Regions from separate parts of the Homo sapiens genome. Here all the other regions are linked to region 2. The links are contacts of gene promoters, found by promoter capture Hi-C in blood cells and fetal thymus (Javierre and others, 2016). All regions are on one chromosome and are shown on one strand. The core of a region is centred on a gene start or on the middle of the fragment in contact, and the rest is flanking DNA. Distances in the headings are between cores, read along the strand shown.

Region 1 (4,466 bases), core at 674-3,173, 160 kb before region 2:
GGCTGAACTGCAGAACAACATGGTGCTAGTGAAACTGGACCTTCGGAAGAAGGCAGCATGTATTGCTGAGCAGTATCATACTGTGTTGAAACTCCAAGGCCAGGTTTCTGCCAAAAAGCGCCTTGGTACCAACCAGGAAAATCAGCAACCAAACCAACAACCACCAGGGAAGAAACCATTCCTTCGAAATTTACTTCCCCGAACACCAACCTGCCAAAGCTCAACAGACTGCAGCCCTTATGCCCGGATCCTACGCTCACGGCGTTCCCCTTTACTCAAATCTGGGCCTTTTGGCAAAAAGTACTAAGGCTGTGGGGAAAGAGAAGAGCAGTCATGGCCCTGAGGTGGGTCAGCTACTCTCCTGAAGAAATAGGTCTCTTTTATGCTTTACCATATATCAGGAATTATATCCAGGATGCAATACTCAGACACTAGCTTTTTTCTCACTTTTGTATTATAACCACCTATGTAATCTCATGTTGTTGTTTTTTTTTATTTACTTATATGATTTCTATGCACACAAAAACAGTTATATTAAAGATATTATTGTTCACATTTTTTATTGAATTCCAAATGTAGCAAAATCATTAAAACAAATTATAAAAGGGACAGAAAAATTAAGAATCAAACATCATTCTGGACCATGGGAACCTTGAAAAGGCATGGCAGTGGAGACCAGTAACTAGTATACAGCTTGCCTGAGAAGGCTTAGTAACAAATGAATTCAAGTCGTATTAGATATTCTAAACCTTCCTTAATATAAGATGAAGTGTCATATGTTAGGAGGTAAAAACGTAACACAAAATTCTGGGAATAAGAATAAAGTCTGGACCCTGAGCTCAGAATGATCCATAGCATCTACTGTGCAAATATATTACAGCAGACATTATAGCATATTACCTCCTGCTGTACACACATGCACAGGCCTGAAACTCTCCAAGAGCACCATAAGAATGATTCCCTTTACCTCATCTAGATAAAGGCTGAAAAAAATGTATTCTGTTGCAGATGGGAGGGAAAAAAATAGACAATTACGTTGAAAATTTATTAAAACAGACCAGCTTGAAGTGAGTTTATTCTTGTCTGTATAATCACCAATGTTATTTCCAAATGTCCGTGAAATTATCTATAATCCTATCTCCTTGCTTGCTTTGGTAGGAGTATAGCTAACAATATAGCCATCTTTTGCCCTCAGTAAGGGCTATCAGCAGTTCCAAGCTCTGTGAGATTATTTTTGCCCTTCTTTTATTCAACTCTAGTTGAATAAAGTTACTTCCAATTTGAAAGCTTTAGAAGACCCCCCCAAAACTGTTTTGGAAGATTGTCTCCCTAGAGAGTAAGAACAAATGGATAGCTCTATTCCATTTAAACCTAATCTCTGACATCAGAATAGGGATCATGCTCAGCAAATCCAAGAGCAAGGTCATTTGTATCCATTGCTCTGACTTCTTCCTAGGGTACTCAGTGCCCTACTGCCAGCTCAGGGTAGAGTGGCAGACTTTCCTCCTTTCTTTCACTCTCAGCAGCATTGAAACTTTGTTCCTGTAGCATTGCCTGTGCTAAAGTGCTATAAAAGGGACTTTCTTGGGGGCCAAAAAAAAAAAGCATTCAGGGAAGAAGGCCAAGATCTATAGCCACTCTTTGGACATAAGTGAGACAGAAGTACTTCTAACTGGCAAGATAATGTCTGTTCCTGCCAGGATTCTGTCAGTTGGCCTCTGAAGGTAATTATACAAGCTGTCCCTATGGAGCTGTTGCCATCTGTAGAAACAAGAAGAGCTGAGGTCCTTGGAACAGACGTGCTGTTCTTTACATGGAGGTAAGGCTTAATTAAGATGGGTCTAACAATGTGCTGGCTTGAGAGTAGCCAACTATGGCGTGACAGAAGACAAGTTGAGTGGAGAAACTCTGCGTGTGGGGGTATTGTTAGCAGAGAGTGAAGCAGGTAGGAAAAAGGGAGCAGGCACCTCGGTGGTAGGAGTCTCGCCTTGGTTCCGAAGCTGTAGGATTTGCCGGAGTAAGGCCTTACCTTCTTCCCGGGTCTGCAACAAAGTCAGGGAAATGTTTCAAAACATGTCCAAAGCTAGTCTCGAAAACAAGTTATTAAGATGCTGTTAAACAAGTTCCACAGATCAAGGAGGCGGGAGGCTTGCTTGTTTTTTTTTTTTGAGATGGAGTCTCACTGTGTCACCCAGGCTACAGTGCAGTGGTGTGATCAAGGCTCACTGCAGCCTCGACCTCACTGCAGAGGATCAAGTGATCCTCTCACCTCAGCCTCCTGAGTAGCTGGGACCACAGGCATGCACCACCAAACCTGGCAAAATTTAATTTTTGTAGAGACAAGCTCTCCCTTTTTTGTCCAGGCTGGTCTTGAACTCCTGGACACAAGCGATCCTCCTGCCTCAGCCTCCCAAAGTGTTGGGATTATAGGTGTGAGCCGCTTGCCTGGCCAAGGTAGGCTTTCCACTTAAATATCTTATGTTCTAGCCTAAAATTCAAACCTTTTATTAAAGAACTGATACTCACATCATTAAATGCACAACACTTTTGTGCACAAGTTGAAGCTTCATCCCACAGTTTGCACTTAAAATAGTACTGGGCCAGATAGCGAAAGGCAGTGCTTTCCTCCAAGTGTTCTACTATTTCCTAGAAAGGGAAAGCAAAATTACTGAGGTGACAGTAATAATATCAGCAGTACAATTCTCATGGTATGATACATACCCCACAGGAATAGATATCTTGGATATATTTGATGTAACACTGGGCAGCCTGTTCTGACTCAGTCAACTGTTCATGAAGCCTACAAAAGAAACTGATCTTTAAATACCAATGATATCCCAAAGCAACTTAGTGATAAAAAAAGTAAAAGTACATAAGACCAAAAAAAACAATACATAGGTAAGTATCAATTTTGACATAAATGACACTCTTGGAACTAGAATAGTATTAGATGTGATAGTTACTGTTATCAAAGCTTAGAATCATTACTCTGCTAATGATGGAAGGAGAGTCAGTAAATATTAATATCTAAGCTAGATAAACCATCCTTGCAAAAATTATCTAGTAATACCCAGAGTAAAGTGGCTCATGCCTGTAATCCCAGCACTTTGGGAGGCCAAGGAGGGCAGATCACTTGAGGTCAGGAGTTTGAGACCAGCATGGCCAACAAGGTGAAACCTCATCTCTACTAAAAGTAGAAAAATTAGCCGGGCGTTGTGACACATGCCTGTAATCCCACCTACTCAGGAAGCTGGAGCAGGAGAATTGCTTTAACTTGGAAGGTGGAGGTTGCAGTGAGCCAAGATCATACCACTACACTCCAGCCTGGGCCACAGAATGAGACTCTGACTCCAAAAAAAGAAAAAAAAAAAAAAAAGCTGGGCACTGTGGCTCACACCTGTAATCCCAGCACTTTGGGAGGCCAAGGCGGGTGGGTCATCAGAGATCAGGAGTTCAAGACCAGCCTGGCCAACATGGCAAAACTCTGTCTCTACTAAAAAATACAAAAATTAGCCAGGTGTGGTGGCAAGCGCCTGTAATGCCAGCTACTCGGGAGACTGAGGCAGGAGAATCATTTGAACCCAGGAGGCAGAGGTTGCACTCTAGCCTCCGTGACAGAGCAAGACTCCGTCTCAAAAAAAAAAGATAACAAGTGGCCAGGCATGGTGGCATAGGGCCATAATCCTAGCTACTCTCTAATCTGGCTGAGACCAATGACTTCAAGACCAACCTGGTCATCACAGCAAGATCCTATCTATAAATTACAAAAAAAAAAAAAAAGATACCAAGCAACTCAATTTTTTTCCTAAGAATCCAGACAGGAACCTCTTTACATTTAAGAACCTCTTTGCCTACTATTTGAGTTATTCCTAATTTTTCTGGCCCTTAGCAGGAAATTAATACTGAAAGTAGTTTGACACAAAAATGTTATCCTTTCTTCAAATCAATCTTGATCTCTTGCTTTAATAGGAAAGCAACGGCCCTCCTTCAAGAGAAGTAGCATTCTCTTTTTATTTTTTTTATTTTGAGATGGAGTTTTGCTCTTGTTGCCCAGGCTGGAGTGCAATGGCGCGATCTCGGCTCACTGCAACCTCCACCTCCCAGGTCTTGAACTCCTGACCTCAGGTCATCCACCTCCCTCAGCCGCCCAAAGTGCTAGAATTACAGGCATGAGCCACTGCACCTGGCCAGAAGTGGCATTCTCTAGGAACAAGATGGCTACATTCACAAACCAGCATTCACACACCCTGCTACATCCCTACACCTATGTAGAATGATGGGTGTATGGGAGGCTCTAGACCATGCAGGACCCACCATCCCAGAGAAGCCAACAGAAATATCAATAGCATTTCACTCCTTTCACTCACTTTGCCAGTTTCACCAGAGCCATTTTCTCCACATCTCCCACGGCGTAAGCTCTCCAATAACACTGTCAAAAAAATAAACTGGTCATTTTGACCATTGTC
Region 2 (4,385 bases), core at 1,265-3,764:
GAGAGATAGAGGTTTAGTCATCAGAATTCAGATTCCATAGACCTAGGCAATTTTTCCATCCTAAAAATACTGCTTTTGGAAAATAATCCTAGCTGCAAAGCTTCTCTTTTGTTGTAGAAGACAGTATTTTCCCTAATGTTTCCTTTGGGAGTGTTGGTTTGCCAAAAGAAGCTATGTGGCTCACTCTTTAGACCTTTCTGTTCCACCCTTTCTTCTCTCTATGTTGACATTCTTCCAATGTGTGTGGGTGAAGTGTAGTTGCTTAGAGATCCAGGCAGGAGCCTCTGTCTCTAAGGCTTAGCCTTTCTTTACCAGTTGTGGTGCTAATTTGCCAGGCAGCAAGAAGAGTCAAGTTGCTTAGCTTATGTCCTGGTTTCCTGCTTCAAATTGGTGGCACTCATCATTGAATACCAATGAAGTGTGTGCAGGACAGGACTGACTTGACTACCTGGAGCAGGAATCTTTGCAGGGGTGCACATACACCCTAGAAAAAGTGAGGGTTGTCACCTGCCCTGGAAACAAAGGAAGGGCTTTGGGGAAGTGGTGGGCAGTGGCATGTGGTTAAAGAAGCTTAGAATTACAGGGTTTTTTTTCTTTAAAACTGATGTTTCATTTCACCTACTGCTTGAGCAGGGGTAAAGTTTGAACATCTAAAATGACTTTGTTTCCCCCTTTTTTTCTTTTGAGTTTATTTTTGTTGGATTTTTCTGCTATTTTCTGTGAGGCCAAGTGTGATTTTATTTTTCATTCCTGAAGTCTTGTTAATATAGGAAAGAACGTAAACTCCATGAGGGCAAGAGTTTTGTTTTATTCAATATTGTGTCCCCAACACTTTGGGAAGTTCCTGGCACATGAAAAGTGCTGGTCACATTTGTTGAATGCATTTCCCTTTTGCCTTTCCCATCCGTGAACTTAGGTACATTTCTGTCTCTCTGCTGTGAGAAACTAGCCTTGGACATTGGGGCAGTAGTTAAATCTCTGTATGGGAGAAAATCCCAGCAGATAATTTTGATAGAAAAATTGCAAGGCAGATAGATCTTGTATGGATTCACCCTTGTTCCCCTCCTACCAACTACAGCTTATGGGCCATGTGCTTTAAGAGGTGGCTCTCAGCCCAGAAAAACATTCTGAGTCAGGCCTCAGGTTGGCTGTGGGAGATGGAAGTTAAAAAGAAGTGGAGGGAGGAATGTTTCCTTGGTGCTCCACAGGGTTGGTTCTAGAATGATTTTCCTATATGTTTTATACTTTAGTAAAAGTATAAAGTCAATAGTTGGTTACCCCTCTCCCCAAGCCTTTGTTACAAGAAAAGTAGGTCAAGGGTGTAGACAAGGTTATGGACAGGAGATAGCTGGGGTAGGCACAGAAGCCTTGGAGAAAGAACCAGCTACCACTATTTCCTGTCTGTAGGGAAAATCAAAAAGTCACTTTTAGAACAACAGTCATGGGTTATTACTATACCCTTTATCTTTTGTATCCATTTTGTGTATACTCAGTCTCTGCATCCATGAGACCATGGAATGTGCTAGTCCCTGATATTGCCAGCTTTAAATGATTGAGGCAATTTCCTGTTGCTTATTGTGGGTAACAATCTAGCCAAAAATCTCAGCATCTCACTTTCTCTGCAGGCTCCTTTTCTAATCAGGAGCTATCAGTCTCCCACACCTGTATTAAATGCATTCAGATAAGAGTTACAGAATTTTCTTTGCCCCCAGCCCCACTAATTCCATGGTAAGATGGAGTGCTACTAAGAGAACCCCTTTACTGTTGGTCTATTTCCAGTTCCCCTAAGAGTTGAATGGAGAAACACGTAGACTTAATAACATTGGCAGACTAGGAAGGGGAAGAAGTTAGGTCGGTTTTAGGAAAAACACCAAGATGTTGGGGGGCACGTTGGCCTTCAGTCAGTGGAAAGAGTGGCATTATACATCCAATGGAAGTAATACATTGGCCAATTGGAAAGGAACCTAAGAAGTGCTGGCAGTATAGAATGGGATGGTGCTGTTATGGGCCATTGAGAAGGAAGACATTGTGTCTCATGGACCAATGGGGAGAACATTTCCTACAAGACAGCAGGTAGGAGCTCATATTTTCAGGATAGGAAATCAATGGGGGTATTGGAGACACTAAATAGCTCAAAACATCCACTCTCTAGGTACCTTGCCCCTCACCCCCTTACCCCGTAAATGTCTTTGGTATCCGAGGAGAGCAAGCTAAAGCCCTCTCATATATACGACTCCCTGAAGGAAGATTGAGACCAGGGATGATGCCATGGGGAAGCTGAAGGACCCGCCCACTTCCCTACCCCGGCCGGACCTGCAATTCCCCTCCAGACCGCAGGGGGCACTGCAGGCCCCGGGGAGATTGGGGCGGAGCGCTGCGAGGGGCCAGGAGCTGTCGCCCCGCTCCAGAGCGCGGGGGGCGCTGTGCGGGGCCCAGGCTGCGGCTCCGCTCCCGGCCACGGGGGGCGCTGCGCTGCGCCGGTGGTTGGTGGTGGCTGTTGGGGGGGGTGGGGGGGAACGGCGGCCGCGGGTGGTGCGGAGGGAGGCCTTGCGGGCGGATCGGGCGCTTGGCGGCGGAGGTGGTGGGAGGCGGCGGGCGGGAGCGCGGGTCAGGCCGGCCCCGGCGATGGCGGACGCGGCGGCCTCCCCGGTGGGCAAGCGGCTGCTGCTGCTGTTCGCGGACACTGCGGCCTCAGCCTCGGCCTCGGCTCCCGCGGCGGCAGCGGCGAGCGGAGATCCGGGGCCTGCGCTGCGCACTCGAGCCTGGCGGGCCGGCACGGTGCGGGCCATGAGCGGGGCGGTGCCCCAGGACCTAGCGGTGAGTGGCGGCCGAGTCGGGCACTCGAGGCCGGGGCTGCGGGGCCTGCGGGCGGCCTCCCCGGGGGCCTTTGTGAGGGGGCGGTGGGATGGGGGTGACCCATTTCCGTGCCCCCGGGTCTCCTTAGCGCCCCCCGCCGGCACCTCCGCACCCCGAGCGCTTGCCGGCATGGCTTCCGCGTCGGGGTGTGCGCCCCGGTTTCCCCCGGGGGGCGGCCAGGGCGTCCGGAGCTGCTGCTTGCAGCCAGCAGGCCCCGCCTCCTGGGCGACCCTTTTCTCGGCGTTCCCCCCAACACGCCTTCGGAGCAGGCTCTCGAATCTTGAGCTCCCGGGAGCCTCAGAGTTCGGCCAGTGTTGCCGCTGCCCTCTCGAAGACGCGGACCTGTGGTCCCCAGCCTCTCCCAGGAGACCTGCGCCCTGTTCCTTTTCTCCCAGAGCCCCAAGTGGGGCGGGAATGTGGGCAGTTATGGGAGGCACGGAGGCTGCAGTTGGAGCTGGTCGGGGCTTTTTTATCTGGCAGTTACTTCCTCATCTGAGCTGGGCTCGGCCTGGCGGTCTCCAGAAAGGCCAGCTCTCGGCACTGTCTCGAGCTCTCCTCTCCTTTCCTTAACGCTTCTGGGTGACAGGAGCTGCAGTTGTGGCTGTTTTTGTTAAGTTTGAGATCTTTCTTAGTGGCCGAACGGGGCTGCTGGGTAGTGCTTTTTGCTCCCAGCTCAGCTACTCCCCCAACCTTGGGAGAGGTTTTGTTTTGAAACTTTGTGTTTGGGCTTGGCCCTTTTTGAATGCCTTGGTGTGTTTTGTGATTAAAGTTGTTCAGTCATACAACTTAACTAGCATTCGGGATCATGATGTGTTATTCTCGTTAATGTGGCGGTAAAATATAGTGTTTGAGTTTTGGCAAGCCACTTTATTTCCTCATTTTGATAGGGGCCCTAGCTTCTCTGGTGAGATAAGGCTATGAAAAATGGTGTGTGTGCGTGTTGGGGCAGGGGGTGGTCTTTTGGAATGTAATAGATCAGCAAGCAGAAAGTAAATTTTCTTGATGAACTTGCTTTTGCAGATATAAACGGGAACGCAGTTTGTGAGATTTGGAAGTAATGTTGTAGGCTTCCGATGTTCATTTTTCTTCCTATTGATCAACGGTGTTAGACTGTCCTTTTTCACTAATATACAAGCTTTATGGATTTTTTTTGTGGATGGCTTAGGCTTTGCTTCTGCTACTTGGGTTCATTTGCTTTGATTTTTCTTCATGCTGTATAAGAAACGTTACTAGGACATTTATAAGGCCTCAGTGGGGCAAATTTGCAAAAAGATACTAAAAATTTAAGGGGATGGAATGATGATTAAGACTGGGATTTGGATCTCTATTCCTCTGCGCTTTCTTTAAAAGATGGCTGGGATGGGAAAAGAAGTGTCCATTTCAGATTCATTCTACCACCTTGGAGGCAAAACATACTTAAGATCCACTATTATATGCATACTTTGACCGAAGGCCTACTTTGCCCTAGCTATTCATTGGGATTTTTTTCTGGTTCTTGCAGTGGTCGTCTCGTTTCCTCCATCAGATGA
Region 3 (4,473 bases), core at 352-2,851, 210 kb after region 2:
TTTATATAATTCTATTCTTGGTGGTGAAGACAAGTTTCACCTCTCAGAACTGGAGCTAACCAAACTGACAAAGAGGCTGTGTAAATCTGATGCTCACAGACGGAAACTTGCACAAGCTTCAGCTCTTTTTCTAGACTGGTGATTCAAATTATTGTCATTTTTTGACACAGGGTCTCATTTGTCACCCAGGCTGGAGTGAAATGGTGTGATCACGGCTCACTGCAGCCTCAACCTCCTGGGCTCAAACAATCCTCTTAGCCTCTGGAGTGGCTGGGACCACAGTTGTATAGACTATGACCAGCTAATTTTTCAAATTATTAAGTGAGAGACAATTAGCCGGGCTCAGTGGCTCACGCCCATTATCCCAGCACTTTGGGAGGCCGAGGCAGGTCAATCACCTGAGGTCAGGAGTCCAAGGACCAACCTGGCCAACATGGCAGAACCCTGTCTGTACTATAAATACAAAAATTAGCCAGGCATGGTGGTGCACACCTGTAATCCCAGCTACTTGGGAGGTCGAGGCAGGAGAAATCACTTGAACCCAGGAGGCAGAGGTTGCGGTGAGCCAAGATCACGCCATTGCACTGTAGCCTGGGCAACAGGAGCAAAACTCTGTCTCAAAAAAAAAAAAAAAAAAAAAAAAAAGACACTCAGAGACTCTCCAATTCACAAGGAGAGAGGTTATTTAATATTGTCAGTTAAGACAGCAGTTTTTCCAAGCTAGTAATTCTAGTTTTAAACACTGCCAGAGCAGGTTTTAAAATAAATGTCTTTAACTGAAAGGCAAACAAGTACACCCAGCACATCATTCACACATTATTTAGCTCCAGTATATGTAACTGATTTGAGTGGCTAAAAAAATTTCAGCTCATAAAGAAACTAAAGACCTTACTGTCCCTGTGCTCATGGCAAAGGTCTCTAGAAACCAGAAAACTGAAAAAACAAACAAACAAAAAAAACTCAACTGACATTAGGCCAATTAGAAAATACTATTTATTTTAAATAAGCTCCGGCTGAAAATATCCATCAAGACTGCTCGAATTTTCCGTGTCTCACCTGCACAGATGAGGAGAGTTCACATTTAGCCTTTTCAGCAGCTTCCCGTACCCTCTGAAGTGCCATGTTGTCTTTAGTCAAATCAACCCCTGTCTATAAAGTGAAGACATTGAACACCAAACACCAGCATTAGTGAGGTGATAAATAAACTGCAGTAATAAGGTGGAACAACACAAAATGGAGTCATACCTTTATATATAAGCATGAATTACTTTTTATTACCCTTAATGTGTAGGGAAAAAAAATATTCTGAAAAGAGTATCTGTGTCTAGAATAAGGGGGTTGAACTGAACTCGTAAACAAAGCAAAGAGCAATCTGAACAAAGAATTTCTCAATATCCCAACGTCTACATATTAACCACATTGGTAACTCACCTCTCTCTTGAACTCCTTCACAATGTGCCGTAGCAAGGCCTGGTCAAAGTCTTCCCCACCTAAGAAGGTATCCCCATTTGTGGATTTCACCTCAAATACTCCTTTCTGAATTTCCAGGATAGAAATATCAAAAGTTCCACCACCTAAATCATATACAGCAATGCTGTAAATGATTTGTGAAAAAAAAAAGAAAAGAAATCCTTAAGAACAAAACCTATCACCAGGATATAAATTTCAATAACCAAATACAGATAATCTAAGCTATTTCCCTGAGATATGTACTAGTTAAATTACCATGGCCCAAAAGAAAAGAAAAGAATGGTTTTGAAATGAAAAAACAAAGACAATACAGACTTAAAATCAGTAAAAGCACTGTAAAAGGCTCAATTACTAAAAAATTAAGTGACACTTTAGTTTCACACATCCAGGTGAGAAATTTACTGCACAAACTTACACTTTGTCTTCTGATTTGTCTAGACCATAGGCAAGAGCAGCAGCTGTGGGCTCATTAATCACCCGAAGCACATTCAGTCCAGATATCTGGCCAGCATCTTTAGTGGCCTAGAGAAAACAAAGAGAAAAACATTTTTGTACCCTTCCATCCCAGGCACCTTACTTTTTGTGAATAAGAATGCTAATTGACCTCACCTGTCTCTGCGAGTCATTGAAATAAGCTGGGACTGTGATCACAGCATTTTTTGCTGTGTGCCCCAAGTAATTTTCTGGAAAAGAATGAAATTCAATCATGGAATTCTGTCAGAACAGAATTATTAATATAGCCCAACAACCTGTGTCATCCTTTTGCAGCCACAGACAACATTCTTCAGTCTTTTGGTAAGTGACCTAATATGTCCTTGCAGGAAACACTCCAAGTAAATACACTGGTTAAAAACCCAAGATCAGGCCGGGCACGGTGGCTCACACTCGTAATCCCAGCACTTTGGGAGGCTGAGGCGGGCAGATCACCTAAGGTTGAGAGTTTTGAGACCAGCCTAACCAATATGGAGAAACCCCATCTCTACTAAAAATACAAAATTATTCAGGCATGGTGGCGCATGCCTGTCATTTCAGCTACTCAGGAGGCTGAGGCGGGAGAATTGTTTGAACCTGGGAGGCGGAGGTTGCAGTGAGACAAGATCGCACCACTGCACTCTAGCTTGGGCGACAGAGCGAGACTCTTGTCTCAAAACAAACAAACAAACCCAAGATCGGCCGGCCAGGCACGGTGGCTCATGCCTGTAATCCCAGCACTCTGAGAGGCTGAGGCGGATGAATCACCTGATTTGTCGGGAGTTGGAGACCAGCCTGACCAACATGAAGAAACCCCCATCTCTTTACTAAAAACACAAAAGTGGCTAGGCATGATGGCGCATGCCTGTAATCCCAGCTACGTTGGGGGGGAGGGAGAGGGCAGGATAATCGCTTGAACCCGGGAGGCGGAGGCTTTGGTGAGCCGAGATTGTGCCACTGCACTCCAGCCTGGGCAACAAGAGTGAAACTCTGTCTCAAAAAACAACAACAAAAAAACCCCAAAAAACAGAAACCCCTAAGATCACTCTTTCAACATTTTAGTGAAGGTTCACTAAACTACAATGACCTTTAGACTTACAACAGCCACTTCAAATAGGAAGTTCTAATTTATACCTAACAGGGACAAAAGCTTAATGTGTAGTCTTGTGGCTTTCAATATAGAACATTACCCCCTACTGGAAAAAAAGAAACAAGCCAGCCACCATTAGTGAGATTTGAAGATTAATTCAATCTGCAGGGAAAGCATGAAGTATAACACAGTTTTGCCATTCCTAGTTTTTCTATACAAAAGGGACCACAGATTCATCTACAGGAGCTGGAGCACAGGGAGCTAGTGATCTCACAGGAATCATTGTTCTTAGAACTTTCCCAGATGTGAACTAAACCCACTCACCTGCAGTCTCTTTCATCTTCATCAACACAAATGCTCCAATCTGACTCGGAGAATACAATTTCCCATGAGCCTCAACCCAGGCATCACCATTGGAGGCACGGACAATTTTAAAGGGAACATTTTTACTGTAAGACACAAAAATTCTATTAGAGAAAACTACCTGAACAACTTACCATGACAAAATTACCACATACCATGAACATCCATCTTCCACCCCAAGAGACTCATTCATGGCCAACAAATGACAGTTTGTGAAATTCTTTAGAAAGCAATCACTAACATGGTTTATGAGAATTACAAGGCAAAATGAAATAAATAAATAAAAAGAAAGCAATCACTAACATATAAAAACATTATGATGAAACCTCAACATTCTTTATTTAGCGCCCCAGGCAGAAGATTTTTGCAGCCACTTTAGAATAATTTGATGAAACCGTTACTGTATGATCCAGCAATTCTACTCTCTAAGACAAATGGAAATATTTATGTCCACACAAAAACTTGTACACAAATGTTTATGGCAGCATTATTTCTAATAGCCAAAAAGCAGAAACAGCTCAAATGTCCATCACTTGACAAATGGATAAACAAAATGTGCTGTATGTCCATACAGTATAGTATTATTTGGCCATAAAAAGGAATGCAGTACTGACACATGCTACAACATGGATGAACCTTGAAAACATGCTAAGTGAAAGAAGCCAGTCATAGAGGTCCACGCAACTCCATGCATACAGAATTCATATTCTACTCAAGCTCAATAAAGCTGTTTAAATTTTTAAAAATATTTAGTTTATATATATATAGACAGAGACACACACAGTCTTGCCTTGTTGGCCTAGATGGTCTTAAACTCAGCCTCAGACAGTCTTTCCACCTCTGCCTCCTAAAGTGCTAGGATTACAGACATGAGCCACTGCTCTAGGCCTAAAACATTTTGTATACAACAGGAAACTCTACCTATGCTTCTAGTTTTTTTTTTTTTTGAGACAGGGTTTCACTGCTATTACTCAGACTGGAGTGCAATGGCATGATCTCAGCTCACTGGAACCTCCGCCCCTCAACGCTCAAGCCTCACTAGTAGCTGGGACTATAGGCGCGCACCACCGAGCTTGGCT
Region 4 (4,663 bases), core at 134-2,633, 190 kb before region 2:
AGCAGCAGCAGCACCAAAGTGAGGCTGAAAAGAGAAGCCTATGTAGGACCCATGAGATTCTCTGGGGCTTCGCTGAATAGTTACCTTGTCCTCAATGATGGCAATGATGTCTCCAACAGTCTCAAAATCCAGCTCTTCACCTGTGTAAGACACAGCAATATCCATCTTCTCAGCCAGATCTAATTCTTCCTTCCCATCTATGCTGGGAGCCTTTGATCCAACAGGAGCCTCTGCTACCCCTGATCGAAAACACTCTTCTTTGATAGAATTGATGATCATGGATATTTCACTGCTGTCCATGGAAACAGTCACAGTATGTGGATCCCCCACAGCCTCCATGGGAACACAGTTGTCGGGTTGACTCACTGAGTAACAGAAAGAGAAAAGCATCTCAGAAGCTTATTGGGTACAAAGCGACCACCTTGAGATCACATAAGCGCTACAGACAGATGTCAAATATCCAAACACTTAAGGTCAGAAAGAGTCATCAACATGTGCCTATGTTTTCTTCTCCCCAGTTTTATCTAGAAAGGTGAGAACATATTTTCAAGCCTGCTCATATCTGTATACTTAGCCTCTTCCTGCAATACATAAATGCCCACCCACCTCTTCTCACATCTATTTCTAAGGATATTTATTTCTAAGGATAAAGATGGCACATGTCTATGTAGAACAGAGAAGAAGCATCTGAATCGGAGCTGATGCTCTTGGTCATTTTTCTCTAACTAAAGCTCAAAATGAAATTTTAGATCTAGTGGCTGCTCAGGGACGCACCTGGAGCTACACTTTCAGTAGTGGAGACAGCCGGAGCAGAGGATGGTGCTGGCAGCGCAGGCATCATGACAATGGTAGCTTGGGACACAGACTCTACAGGGGGTGGCACAAGTTTAACTGGAGGCTCACTGGCAACAGTAGTGAAGGAAGCAAGAGGTGTGGTGAACTGTGTAGGACCAGCTTCTAAAAGCCGGGAAAGAGTGGGAGCACCTAACATATAAAGAGGTACACAAAATGAAGTAAGAAGAAAGCACATAAATAAGAAGCAATAGCTACTTGAAGACTCAACTAAGAAAATTCTTATGGTCTCAAAGGATGAGAGCAACTCCTGCATTGAATAAGTTCATCATCTATATCCTTACTCTAACCTTACTTAAGATCTTCCTCCAAGTTAGGAATGAACCAAAGCACTAGAACACACAACATATATAAAAAATGGGTGGTAAGGCTAGGTGCAGTGGCTCACGCCTGTAATGCTAGCACTTTGGGAGGCCGAGGCAGGTGGGTCACTTGAGGTCAAGAGTTTGAGACCAGCCTGGGCAACATAGCGAAACCCTGCCTCTACTAAAAATACAAAAAAAAAAAAAAAAAAAAAAAAAAAATTAGCTAGGCGTGGTGGTGGGTGCTGTAATCCCAGCTATTCAGGAGGCTGAGGCAGGAGAACTGCTTGAACGCAGGAGGTGGAGATTGCAGTGAGCCAAGATTGTGCCACCACACTCCAGCTTGGGCGACAGAGCAAGGCTCTGTCTCAAAAAAAACAACAACAACAACAACAAAGGGTGGTAATTTTTCCTCAGAGGAAAATTAATCACCAAGAAACGAAAAACTGGTATGAATAAATCTGTCGCTTCTGCTGAAGTTCAGCATATTGTAAACCACCCAAGTTCAACACCATTCAAATACCAATAAGGTTTGTATGGTATTCTATGGAGCTTTTTTTATTTCCCTGCTTTATACTTTCTACCTCATTAAATTCTCATCACATCCTTGTGAAGTATATATGTTACAATAAAAAAGGAAACTGAGGCTCAAAAGCTAAGTTACCTATCCAAGGTCACAAAACCAATGTGTGGCAGGCCTGAGATTCAAGCCCAATTCTCTGGTTCCAAATCTTATTCCACTATTCTATAATCTTAGGTATCTCTAGCACCTTGATTTTGCAAGCCCTAAGAAAGCAGTTCAATATTACTCTCAATATCCATGCTGTGGTCAATCAGGGCTATCACTATCTTGAAGATAGATGGCTTTATAATATGGAGACTACATTGTTTACCAGGTAAAGTAGCTCCAAAAAAAAGTTAGAAAAAGTTGGGCTTTAAATCTAGCACTGACAACTGCTTAGTAACAGTGAAACTGAGGTCAGTCAATGTCAAGTTCAACACCTTTGAGGTTGATAAAGGAAAAGTGGTAACTTACCTGATGCAGCAGGGGAGGCTGCAACAGTATTGGGTGTTTGCTGTATCTCCCCACCATGTATCATGGGAAGGACCCCGCCTACCTCCAGGAGGACACCTGTACTGTTCAGGTGGCCAGAAGCCACAGCCATTTCACTCTCATTGACCTACCAGGGAAGAATAGAGGTGAAGGCTACACTCAAGCTTTCCTTCACTACCATTTCCCAACAAAGCTCCAGCAGTTGATCAAACTTCATGAAAACTAATAGCTAATATCCACAGAGAATAATTTAAGACCCAAGGGAAACTCTAAACTATAATGTTCAAAACTTATTTGACAAGAGTTCTCTGGAGAAGAGAACCAAAATAATTGTGATTCAGATACCTCAGGACCCATGGGTACTATCAACTTACTGTATTTTTAAAAAATTAACATTTAATTAGGAGATCTTTTCCTCTTTTGAACTTTTATTCCCCATGTCACATTTTAGGTCCCAGGCACTCCCTTCCAAGTACTAAATCACCACAGCTCTCAAACACCCACAGAAGTCTCCATACCAGTCTGGGGCTAGTAGGCAGGAGGCTGCCCTTCTTCAAGAGCTCTGACAGCAGAGGGGAGGGGGGTGGAGTTGCTTTCTGTCCAAGCATCTTTTTCTGGGGTGAATCATCTGTTACTGGGGTCATGGGGGCTTCTAAGGGTGCAGAGCCTGGAGGAAGGGTGTCAGGAATCCCAGGAAACGAGGTGACTGGGGTACTCGGCAAAGTCCCGGGGGTTACCTAAGAGACAACAGAGAACCTTTATCTGACTTCTCAAACTATGGAAGGTTCCCTACTAATCTGTATGGGTTAGTGTGTCTAACTATTATTTTATTAGTCCTGAGTGGAATTGCCCAGAAACCCTCTATCCCTCCTGCTCTTAGCCATACTTTTCTTCCCCACAATCTTCTCTTTCATCCACTCAAACCCACAGTGACTCAACCATCCCACCCAACCTGCCTTTTATGAACTCCTTACCCACTACCAATATTACATTTACAAGGATTTTGTCCCTTATTTCAGCAGGAATTTCATAAGACTAGTATGAAACAATTTCTTAAAATAGTTTTTTACCTATCTCTCAAAAAGGTCAAAAGCCTCAATGCTTTTAGGTCCGTTCTTATCTCAGAGCACAGAACATGGTAAATTAAGTCTTTAGCATTCAGATCAAGAGAGGAAGTTGCCTCTAGGCCAAAAGTGGTTTCCTCATCGCTCAGCTCTGCCGGCTTATTGCCCCTTCACTGATCAATTCCCACAGATGGAAATATACTCACCCCAGAGGTAGCCTCTTCCATAGTGGTTGGAGTCAAGTCCCCAAGTGGATAATCACCTCCTGGGGAGGCAGAATCTATAGGAGAGCGAACCATCACAGTGGGTAACCTCCGGGGGGGTGTTTTTACTGCTTGACGAGCTAGAACATAAAAGAGAACAATGTCCAAATCTTCAAGATTAAATAAATGAAACTTGACACTAGTCTGCTATTATACAATAAAGGACAAATAGGTATGTTGCATTACTAAAGCAGCATAATAAGTTTGGATTAGAAAGCTTTAACACTTCTAGAGATGGATAACTTTTTAGCCTAATTTTTCCTAAGGGCAATTCTCACACTAAGAAACTCCTTTAACAATCTCAAACTACTTAATTATCCCAAAGGTCCTTGGAGTGGGAAAGTAGTTTAAACATCCTTTAATATTCTCTTTAGCAACTTACTAATATTCTGCTTTTAAGAACAGGAAGGCCAGGTGCAGTGGCTCACGGCTGTAATCCCAGCACTTTGGGAGGCCAAGGCAGGTGGATCACCTGAGGTCAGGAGTTTGAGACCAGCCTGCGAAACCCCATCTCTACTAAAAATACAAAAATTAGCTAGGTGTGGTGGCAGCCGCCTGTAATGCCAGCTACTCGGGAGGCTGAGGCAGGAGAATCACTTGAACCCGCGAGGCGGAGGTTGCAGTGACCCAAGATCGCGCCACTGCACTCCAGCCTGTGCAGCAAGAGCAAAACTCCGCCTGGGGGAAAAACAAAAAACAAAAACAGGGAAAGACCTCACTGGCGCACAGCATGTATTCCTAGAGTTGTAAATGCTTAAATTTCTCCTCATCTAATGACTGAGCTATTCTCAATCTTTTCACAGGCCCTTGACTTCTAAAACATTATGTTCAATATCTCATCAAGCCTTTGTGTCCTGAAGTTAATTTAAGGTCTAGTGAGATCTGAGCACAACGCATGTTCTAGGAGTTTCTTCTTAAGACATTAAGGGATGTTTTTATTCTGGTAGAAGAGAAAACTGCAAGTAAATTTAAATCAATGTATTCTATGTTACAAAACAGTCCAACTGTCATTAGCATGCAGTACTGTGCAATCAATTGCTAAAGAGGCATACTAGGTTCAGCTTACCCTGGTATGCAGCATCTGTAGCCTTCCTCTTTACTTCAGCCTCCTCTTCTTCCAATTTCTTT

Evidence for each region. Contacts are between HindIII fragments. The CHiCAGO score rates a contact against its expected background, and 5 or more counts as called.
Region 1: a fragment that was not itself captured here is called in contact with the fragment with the promoter of KDM3B in region 2 in 6 of 17 cell types (megakaryocytes, neutrophils, total B cells and 3 more); the score reaches 7.8 in megakaryocytes.
Region 3: a contact is called between a fragment that was not itself captured here and the fragment with the promoter of KDM3B in region 2, in 1 of 17 cell types (neutrophils). The highest score is 5.3, in neutrophils.
Region 4: a fragment that was not itself captured here is called in contact with the fragment with the promoter of KDM3B in region 2 in 1 of 17 cell types (neutrophils); the score reaches 5.8 in neutrophils.

The regions. Positions count from the first base shown.
Region 1 is chr5:138,187,107-138,191,572 of GRCh38, forward strand. CDC23 (cell division cycle 23) reads right to left here. Exons shown (of 16, transcript NM_004661.4): 13 at 4,368-4,429; 14 at 2,722-2,800; 15 at 2,527-2,646; 16 at 544-2,042. The coding sequence ends at 1,872. KIF20A (kinesin family member 20A) reads left to right here. Exons shown (of 19, transcript NM_005733.3): 19 at 1-617. The coding sequence ends at 307. Among named protein-coding and RNA genes, the nearest start is that of KIF20A, 10 kb to the left of the region's middle. The HindIII fragment of the contact is 1,277 bases long and covers 1,286-2,562 here.
Region 2 is chr5:138,350,171-138,354,555 of GRCh38, forward strand. KDM3B (lysine demethylase 3B) reads left to right here and starts at 2,515. Exons shown (of 24, transcript NM_016604.4): 1 at 2,515-2,817. The coding sequence starts at 2,626. RefSeq lists silencers at 2,215-2,294, 2,315-2,554, 2,635-3,104 and an enhancer at 3,355-3,454. The HindIII fragment of the contact is 3,421 bases long and covers 569-3,989 here.
Region 3 is chr5:138,565,570-138,570,042 of GRCh38, forward strand. It overlaps HSPA9 (heat shock protein family A (Hsp70) member 9), which reads right to left. Exons shown (of 17, transcript NM_004134.7): 5 at 3,356-3,480; 6 at 2,080-2,153; 7 at 1,886-1,992; 8 at 1,432-1,594; 9 at 1,057-1,149. Among named protein-coding and RNA genes, the nearest start is that of SNORD63, 6.7 kb to the left of the region's middle. The HindIII fragment of the contact is 2,975 bases long and covers 115-3,089 here.
Region 4 is chr5:138,165,744-138,170,406 of GRCh38, forward strand. It overlaps BRD8 (bromodomain containing 8), which reads right to left. Exons shown (of 27, transcript NM_139199.2): 7 at 4,602-4,663; 8 at 3,479-3,615; 9 at 2,191-2,335; 10 at 775-984; 11 at 85-365. Among named protein-coding and RNA genes, the nearest start is that of BRD8, 11 kb to the right of the region's middle. The HindIII fragment of the contact is 1,974 bases long and covers 397-2,370 here.